2 separate regions of the Homo sapiens genome follow, and region 2 is linked to region 1. The links are contacts of gene promoters, found by promoter capture Hi-C in blood cells and fetal thymus (Javierre and others, 2016). All regions are on one chromosome and are shown on one strand. The core of a region is centred on a gene start or on the middle of the fragment in contact, and the rest is flanking DNA. Distances in the headings are between cores, read along the strand shown. Region 1 holds the start of C1orf174 (chromosome 1 open reading frame 174). Region 2 has its middle 40 kb from the start of LINC01646.

Region 1 (4,040 bases), core at 1,456-3,955:
CCACCAGGAATGCAGAGAGAAAGGAGCAGAAAAAATATTTGAAGAAATAATGGCTGAGAACTTCTCAAATTTACAGAAAAACATTAACCTATATATCCAGGAATCTTTTTTTTTTGAGACGGAGTCTCACTCTATCGCCCAGGCTGGAGTACAGTGGCATAATCTTGGCTCACTGCAAGCTCCGCCCCCCAGGTTCATGCCATTCTCCCGCCTCAGCCTCCCAAGTAGCTGGAACTACAGGCGCCCGCCACCACGCCCCGCTAATTTTTTGTATTTTTAGTAGAGATAGGGTTTCACTGTGTTAGCCAGGATGGTATCAATCTCCTGACCTTGTGATCCGCCTGCCTCAGCCTCCCAAAGTGCTGGGATTACAGGCGTGAGCCACCGTGCCTGGCCCCATATCCAGGAATCTTAATGAACAGAACTCCAAATAGGATACATGCAAAGAGATCCACAGACACATCACTGTAAAAATACAAAGATCAAAGGCAAAATCTTGAAAGAGAACAAAACCTTGAAAGCCCCAAGAAGAAAGCCACTTAGAAGGGAACCTCAATAAATGAACTGACTGAAACAATGGAGAATATTCAAACATATTCAACATGCTCAAATAAACTTGTCAACCAAGAATCCTATATCCAGCAAAGCTATACTTCAAAAATGGGCTGGGCATGGTGGCTCATGCCTGTAATCCCACCACTTTGGGAGGCTGAGGCAGTGATCACCTGAGGTCAGGAGTTTTAGACCAGCCTCGCCAACATGGTGAAAACCTGTCTCCAGTAAAAACACAAAAATTAGCCGGGCGTAGTGGCAGCCTCCTGTAATCCCAGCCATTCCAGAGGCTGAGGTGAGAATCACTTGAACCCGGGAGGCAGAGGTTGCAGTGGGCCGAGATCACACCTCTGCACTCCAGCCTGGGCAACAGAGTGAGACTCTGGTCTCAAAGCAAAAACAACAACAACAACAACAACAACAACAACAACAACAAAACTCACTTTACAAGAAACACTAAAAGAAGTTCATCAGGCTGAAAGCAAGTGACCCCAGACAGTAATTCAAAACCACACACACACAAAAACAGCACCAGTAAAGGTAATTATGTTCTTATATAGTTTAAATGCCTATTCCTCTACCTCCTTCTCTTAATTTAAAAAGCAATTGTATACAGTAATATGTGTATAATATATACAGACATGTACTATATTTGCCAATAACAAAACAAAGTGGGTGAAAGCAAACCCCTGCTGGCTAAGGAAATGACCACAGACAGAAAGTAATAATGATAACACAGTACTGTTGAGTTTGTAACATTATCAGATGTAATACATATAACAAAATACCACAAAAATAACCATATAAGAGTAACATTTCTGTATCACTTGGAATTAACCTAGTACAAATCTGAAGCTTAAGATGTATATGGAGAATATGAAGATTAAGCTGTATACGGTAAAACATAAAGCACTGGAAAAAACCCAAAAAAGTTGTGGAAAAAAAATCATTAAATTAAAATGCTACATTAGGAAATATTCACTTTAATCCACTTAAAGAAGGAACAGGGGAAGAAAAAGACAGACTTGTATAAAGAAAAGAAAAAGTAAAATGGCAAATGTAAACCTAACTACAGTGTATCAATAATATTAAATGTGCATGGGCTAAACAATTCAATCAAAAGGCAGAAACTACCAGACTGCATTTTAAAAAAGATCCAAGTATATGTGCCTACAGGAGACAAGTTTTGGTTCAAAGATAAAAATAGTAAAAGGAGTTGGAATTCACAAGTGGCCACTCCATTTGAACAAACCAGGAGAGCCTCCATGCAGCTCAGAGCCTCCCAAGTGGACCGGGACCCGCGCCGGGTCCACTGTGAAAAGGGTCCTTCGCCTTAACTGTTACACCCACGCAATGAGCACTTGCCCCTTGCCAGACACTGGCACCCCCCTTCAATCCTCACCACCCTCTTGGTGGATCCCTCATCACCCCACTTTTAGCACATTCAGTAGATGGGGCCAAGCTGAGGTCACTTGCTGTGTGACGTCCATTGGAGTGGCAGCAGTTGAGGGGCACAAACTCAGCTCTGCAGCATCTAGCACTACCAGGAGTTGAAACCAGTTCTGGAGAGGGTGCCCCACCTTCCTAGGAAAGTGGCCCGAAACCTCCCTTCAAGGGGGCGTGACCTGGGAGCCCCCTGTTGCCCAGGACGTGAACTGTGAGCTCCACTTCTCCCGAGGGCGTGGACCGGAGCCCCCCTTCTCCCGCGGGCATGGCCTGGGAGCTCCCCTTCTCTCGGGGGTGTGGCCCAGAGGCCCCATTCTGCGGGGGTGGGTAACCTGGGAGCCCCCTTCTCCCGGGGACGTGACCTGTGAGCTCCACTTCTTCCGAGGGCGTGGCCCGGAGCCCCCTTTTCACAGGGGCGTGACCTGGCAGCCCTCCTTCTCCCGGGAGCGTGGCCTGGAGCCCCCCAACTACTGCCGGGGGCGAGGCCCAAGCGGAGGCCGCTCCTAGGCCACAGGCACCCCGTGACCCCGCCCCGGTTCTCCAGACAGCAGGTGACCCAGAGTCCCCGCCCTGCCCGGCGCAGCTGCTGCCGGGACCCAGCCCTCACCTTCCGGCTCCTCATGAGTGTGAGCACCGCAGCCAAGCACCGCGCGCCCCGGCCAACGCGTCCCGGCGGAGCGGCGACCCGGAGTCTGCAGAGCGCGCCGCGGCGGCGTCCGACGTCAGCACAGCCAATCACAGTGCAGCACCCTCGTCATGTGATTCCCCCCCCCCCCCCCCCCGTGTTGGCTCTTTCGTAAGCGGCGGGCGAAGGTCACAGGCCTTGGGCCAGTGGTGGGACACTGGAGCAGGAAGTCGGCCTGTGGCCGGCCATGTTCATGAGGGCGCGTCCCTTGGCACCCCTGTAGCCGCTATGTTTCCCACGCCCGTGGCAGGCCTGAGAGATTATGTTTGCGGGGGGTGCTTTTTTTGTAGCTTCTGTGTTCGCCATATTTGAAAGGGGCAGACGGCCATGTTCGTGAACGGCGCTTCCCTTGGTGCACCTGTGGCCGCCATGTTTGAGCGAGGTGGGCAACTATGTTCTTGAGGGGGGAGCAACCATGTTCTTGAGGGGCTCTTCCCTTGAAGCCTCTTTGGCCACCATGTTTGAGAGGGGCAGACGGCCATGTTTGTAAGGGGCGCTTCTCTTGGTGCGCCTGTGGCCGCTATGTTTGAGAGGGGCAGGCAACCATGTTCGTGAGGGGCGCTTCCCTTGAAGCCTCTTTGGCGCCATGTATGAGAGGGGCGGACGGCCATGTTTGTGAGGGGCTCTTCCTTTGGTGCGCCTGTGGCCGCCATGTTTGAGAGGGGCGGGCGGGACGTCCGTGAGGGGCCCCTCCCCTTGCATCCCCTGGCTAACAGCCTGCAGGAGGGCGGGAAGTGCTTTCTCCAGTGCCGCAGAGCGCTGGTTTCTGAGTGCCGGTTAGCGGCCTTGAGCAGCGCGAGGGACTCCCAGGCCTGCCCGTGCTGCGGTCCCGCTGGGGAGCTTTGCGCGCTTGTCGCAGGCTGTGCTGCCCCGCGACATGCCGCTTTGGGTTGGGGTGGCCCGCCCGGGAAGTGGCCTCAGCTGTCCCCCACGTTGCGGGCGGGAGGGGGCCTTAGTGGAGGCCGTCGGTGGGCCCAGGAGGCCAGGGTCCGGCGTCGGGCTGGGGGCCGGTTTTCGTCCCCCGTTACGTGCAAGGCGGGAAATGACCCCTCCGCCGTCCCGTTACTCTCCGGGGCCAACGTGGACTCGCAGGGGCCACGCCTTTTCCAATGGCCACGCCCCTAGCAGGCCTGGGTGGACCCGCAGCGGCCACGCCTCCTCCAATGGCCGCGCCCTATCAGGTCTGGATGGACACACGGCGGCCACGCCTCCTCCAGCAAACACGCCCCTAGCAGGCCTGGGCTGCTGTGATGCGTCCTCTTTGGCCGCCGCTGAGGGAGGTGTTTGTAAAGCTGAGGACCACTGTTCTGTTGTGGGTTTTTTTGTTTGTTTGTTTGTTTTTTGAGACGGAGTCTCG
Region 2 (4,438 bases), core at 225-2,724, 710 kb after region 1:
AACTCCATCTTCAGTTCTACCCCGACCCTCCTTGTGACCTTAGGCCAGGCTGTAACCACTTTGGGCCTTTTGTCCTTTTAAACCTGTAGCGATGAAGCATGGTTTGGTAGAAATGAAAAAGCATGAGTTTTAGAACCAAACAGAATCACATTGAAACACTACCCAGTCGTGTGATCTTGGGAAAGTTTTTTTTAACTACTCTAAACCTAGTTCCTGAGCTGAAATAGACAGATACTATGTTCCTCATTGGGTTGTTATGAAAATTGGGAAAAGACACCTGAAAATGTATAGTCTAAACCCTGGCACATAAGCACTCAAAAACAGTGCTCTCTCCTCCTTTCCTGACTGGGACCAAGAACTAAACAACAGAAGTGAGTAGGTCAAGTTCAGCTCCACCCTTTGAAAAGTGATTTCATGGTCTTAGCAGTAAGGAGCTAAATATTTGCTTCTTCATCAATAGGAATTCAATGTTTATAAACTTTGGTAATTTAGATTGAAGGGATATGTAGTACATTAAAATGTCACTCAGAAATAATTTATATTCCCCAATCCATTAATATGAGGCATTGAAATGTCTAATTTTAAATGCTGCCCTCTAAATGCAGCCTTTGATGATCAAACTGGCCAGGCAGGATCAAGCCATCTGTGAATTCCTGCAGTGGCTTTTCTGTAGTAAGCTGAATTGTAGTTATGTAGCTTGCATCTCTCTTTTTCCAGCAGTACTTGAGCACTTCAAAAGGGGGCTAAATATTTGGCTATTTGAGCTGTGAGGGAGCCTGGGGAGGGGTCTGGGATGTGTTCACTGAGTGGTTGAGGTACAGATTTTTCTGCACTGACATGCACATTTCGTACTCCTGCCCAGCCAGATGTGTTCCCTTGCTTGTTGTGGAGGCTGTGTCCATTAGGAATCCACTGGTCACAATTCACCATGACCCACTTTAAACTGGCTGAAGCAAGGCAGGGCATTTGGAAGCCCAGTTAACTCCACTGTCTGGTCCAGGGGTGGGAAAGCCTCAACACCCACAGCCCAGTTATACTTCTTGATGAGTTCCCTAAATGCAGTAACAACATAACTCAATTGTTTGGCTTGAAACAACAGGTGTTGTCTCACAGTTCTGGAAGCCTGAGATCTGAAGTCAAATTGTGGGCAGGCCCATCCCTCCTCCAAAGGCCCTGGGGATGGCTCCCTCTGAGTCTCTCTCATAGCTTCTCATGGCTCCTGGCAATCTTTCTTGTTCCTTGGCTTGTGGCTGTATTGCTCCCATCTCTGCCTCATTCTTCACATGGCCGTCTTTACAGTGAGCCTCTTTGAGGTTCTTTTTATTCTCATAAGGACTCCAGTCATATTGCACATATAGCTCACCCTATTCTAGTATGACCTCATTTTTTTGGAGACAGGGTCTTTCTGTGTTACCCAGGCTGTTGTGCAGTGGCAAGGTCTTGGCTCACTGCAGCTTCGACACCCTAGGCTCAAGCAATCCTCCCACCTCGGCCTCCCGTGTAGCTAGGACCACAGGTGTGTGCCACCATAGCTTTTTTTTAAATTATTATTGTTTGTAGAGATGATGTCTCACTATGTTGCCCAAGCTGGTCCCAATCTCCTGAGCTCAAGCAATTCTTTTGTCTTGGCCTCCCAAAGTGCTGGGATTACAGGTGTGAGCCACTGCCCCGGCTGACCTTGTCTTAACTAATGACCTCTGCAAAGACCTCACATTCTAGGTTCCAGGTAGGCATGGATTTCAGGCCCCACAATTTGACTCATGCCCCACTCCACCTGATTGCGCTTGACCGCTTCTTCCTGCTTTCAGGTCTCATTCTGAGGCTGACTCTCCTTTCACCAGTGCTAATGACTATCGACCCCCTGGGCCAGTGCTCTTCTCTTCCCCTGCCCATCCTGTGGGAGAGACTGAGCTCTGGTCTGTCTCACCCCTCCCAGAAGGTGGTGAGAGGTCCCTCGAGTGGAGCCAACATAGGCCATGTGCCCTCCTGTGCATGGATCCCTGGGGCCAGGGCCACAGCCATGGGAAATGCTGATCAGCTGAAACCAGGAAGGCCCCCAGGCTCCTCGAGAGAGAATGAAGTGGGGGTCCCCAAAGGAGATGTGGGTGCCCTTTCCCTAAAGGAGGAGGGAAGATGGTGCCTGCTACAGAGAGGGAGAGAGTCACTGTTAGAAATACCATGACAGGAGAATACGCGTCATCCAGCTGCCGGGGCTGAGGCAGCCCCACACTCGGCCTCCCTGTGCAGCTGACAATACCCCAAGTCCAACGGTGCTTAAAAACGCTGAATAATTTAAATGGCAATTCCGGGGAGCGCTGCCAGCAGAGACAATCAAATGACACTCCATGTCCCGCCCACTGCCCCCTCCCGGCCTTGCCCTCAGCGTCTAATCAGGGACCGGGTTTTGTCTTTCTGCAGGCCCAAGGCGGGTCTCCTGTTATCTGCTCAGCTTTGTTCCCGATCACAATCTGTAGCACTTTCCTCCATTTTCCCAACAAATAAAACTGGAGGCAATGACCTGTCATTTCCCCAGCATTCAATTAGAAGGGAAAGCAGTGGTGGGAGGTGGGCAATCTCCTCCCGCTCCTCCACACAAATGTGCCCTGGATCCCTTCAGCCAGCCACAGTGGCTCTCCTGCAAGGACACAGTGAGTGAGAAACCAGAGACGGTTCCCAGGGTCACCCGGGCACAGGCCTGATGGGGTCCATGATAAGACAGACATGGAGTCCAGGCGGCCTGCGGCCTGGGTTCAGGTAGGAGGCTGCCCCTCCCCGTGCCTCTCCTGCTTCCTCTCCCTCCCCTCCTCGCCACCCCGCCTCCTCTCCCCTTTTCTGTTAATCTCTCTGTAGGATCGGTACACCATGACAGCCGCCTTGACTACCAAGGTCAGAATCTTCTCAGCAGAGCCTGGTGCTCCTGGGCATTCCTGGGCTGCCAGGGTGTGTATGCTTTTCAGAAACAGTCAGGAGCACACCTCCGTCCAGAAGCCCATATCAGGAAGGCTTCCCCTGAGGATGCAAAGGGCTCCTGGGCTGATGTCTCTTTCTTTTCTGAGGGTTCAGTACGATGATCCCATCCCCTAGACACACCATCACCATCAGAGAAGCTTGCAGAGTCCAGGGATGGGGTTGGGGTCTCTCCTGGGAGGGTCTTTCCCTGTGCCTCCTGCCCCACCAGCCCCACAAAGGATTGTGGGGCTCCATGGCATCTACACAGGCCCTGGTTATCCGCAGGACTCTAGAACATGGACTAGTCCACGTGCTAGTGGCTTTCATTCCGACTTCTTTACACCTTCATCCTCCCGAAGGATTCTCCTATAAATTGATAGAAAGATAATGTTAAACCCAGGCACCTGAGGGAAGGGGAAAATATGCTAAACGGAAACACACAAATTGTCAGGTGCCCAAGTGGAGGCAGTAAATTCACAGTTTCGCTGTAAATCGGGTCTGTGCTTTGCACTTTACATGTAATTGTTAAATTGCTCTAAAAATAAGTAACCGATAAAATGAATAATGATCCAATTTGCCTCATCCACGACTCGGTTTGAACCGAGTGCTGACACAGACACCATCGCTTTTACACTCACCATTTGGCAGCAGCAGAGAAAAGGCTTTTATTCCACTAAGTTTGCGATCCACTTAAACAGTAGAGTAGTTAGATTCTGAAGTCAGCCTGAGACTCTCAGAATTCACATCCAGCCCTTGGCACTGGGCCCATCAGATCTTCTGGGCAGAGCCTGCAGCCTCAGAAGACCTCCCTGCTCAGGGGCTCTGTCCTCAGGCTAAGCCCTGCTTGGTCCCGTCCCTTGTTACCATGAGCCTTGCTTTGAATTAGTCTTTCCTTGTTCATATACCATGTGTTTCCTTTACACTGATTGGGCCCTGACAGAAACACCAAATTATCTGGACGCAGGAGAAAAACCCCCAGACAAACTTTTTATTGGCAGGCTTTGCAACATCACATCCTTCCAGCTTTCAATAGGGGCTCGGTTTCTAGACCATCTGCCTCAGTCCCCTTCTGCCACAGTTCCACCCTGGGACTTTTGCGGGGGCTTTTGGGTGCAGCAGAGGCACAGTGGGGCCTGGAAACATTAGTGCCTGGTTGCACCTGAGCCTGACATGGTCTCCACCATGCTCCCTGTCTGCAGAATGAGAATAACCGCTAAACCCCACAAAGCCATCCTAGGGATGAGGTCAGGCCATGTGCACACGGGGGCAGGTGCCCGCAATCACTTAACAAGGCTTAAACAAGCTCTTGCCATTCTGACTTTGACTCTGCAGGACCAATTTTTACTTCCTGTGTGAACTCAGCCCCGGCCTGTGGAATGCAGGGCCCCTGTAAGTGTGGGTTCAAAAGAGAGGGAACATGGTCCTCTGCCTCACTCCATAAGCTCACGGGCAAGCCTCCCCATGAAGAGACGATCCAGGTGCGACACAG

The links. Contacts are between HindIII fragments. The CHiCAGO score rates a contact against its expected background, and 5 or more counts as called.
Region 2: a contact is called between a fragment that was not itself captured here and the fragment with the promoter of C1orf174 in region 1, in 1 of 17 cell types (erythroblasts). The highest score is 6.3, in erythroblasts.

Annotation. Positions count from the first base shown.
Region 1 is chr1:3,897,567-3,901,606 of GRCh38, forward strand. C1orf174 (chromosome 1 open reading frame 174) reads right to left here and starts at 2,706. Exons shown (of 4, transcript NM_207356.3): 1 at 2,606-2,706. The coding sequence starts at 2,620. It overlaps LINC01134 (long intergenic non-protein coding RNA 1134), which reads left to right and starts at 2,838. Exons shown (of 4, transcript NR_024455.1): 1 at 2,838-3,065. RefSeq lists enhancers at 1,798-2,368, 2,369-2,937, 2,938-3,507, 3,147-3,406 and silencers at 2,457-2,526, 3,607-3,786. The HindIII fragment of the contact is 4,148 bases long and covers 1,406-4,040 here.
Region 2 is chr1:4,609,458-4,613,895 of GRCh38, forward strand. No RefSeq gene overlaps it. Among named protein-coding and RNA genes, the nearest start is that of LINC01646, 40 kb to the left of the region's middle. RefSeq lists an enhancer at 4,240-4,438. The HindIII fragment of the contact is 3,261 bases long and covers 1-3,105 here.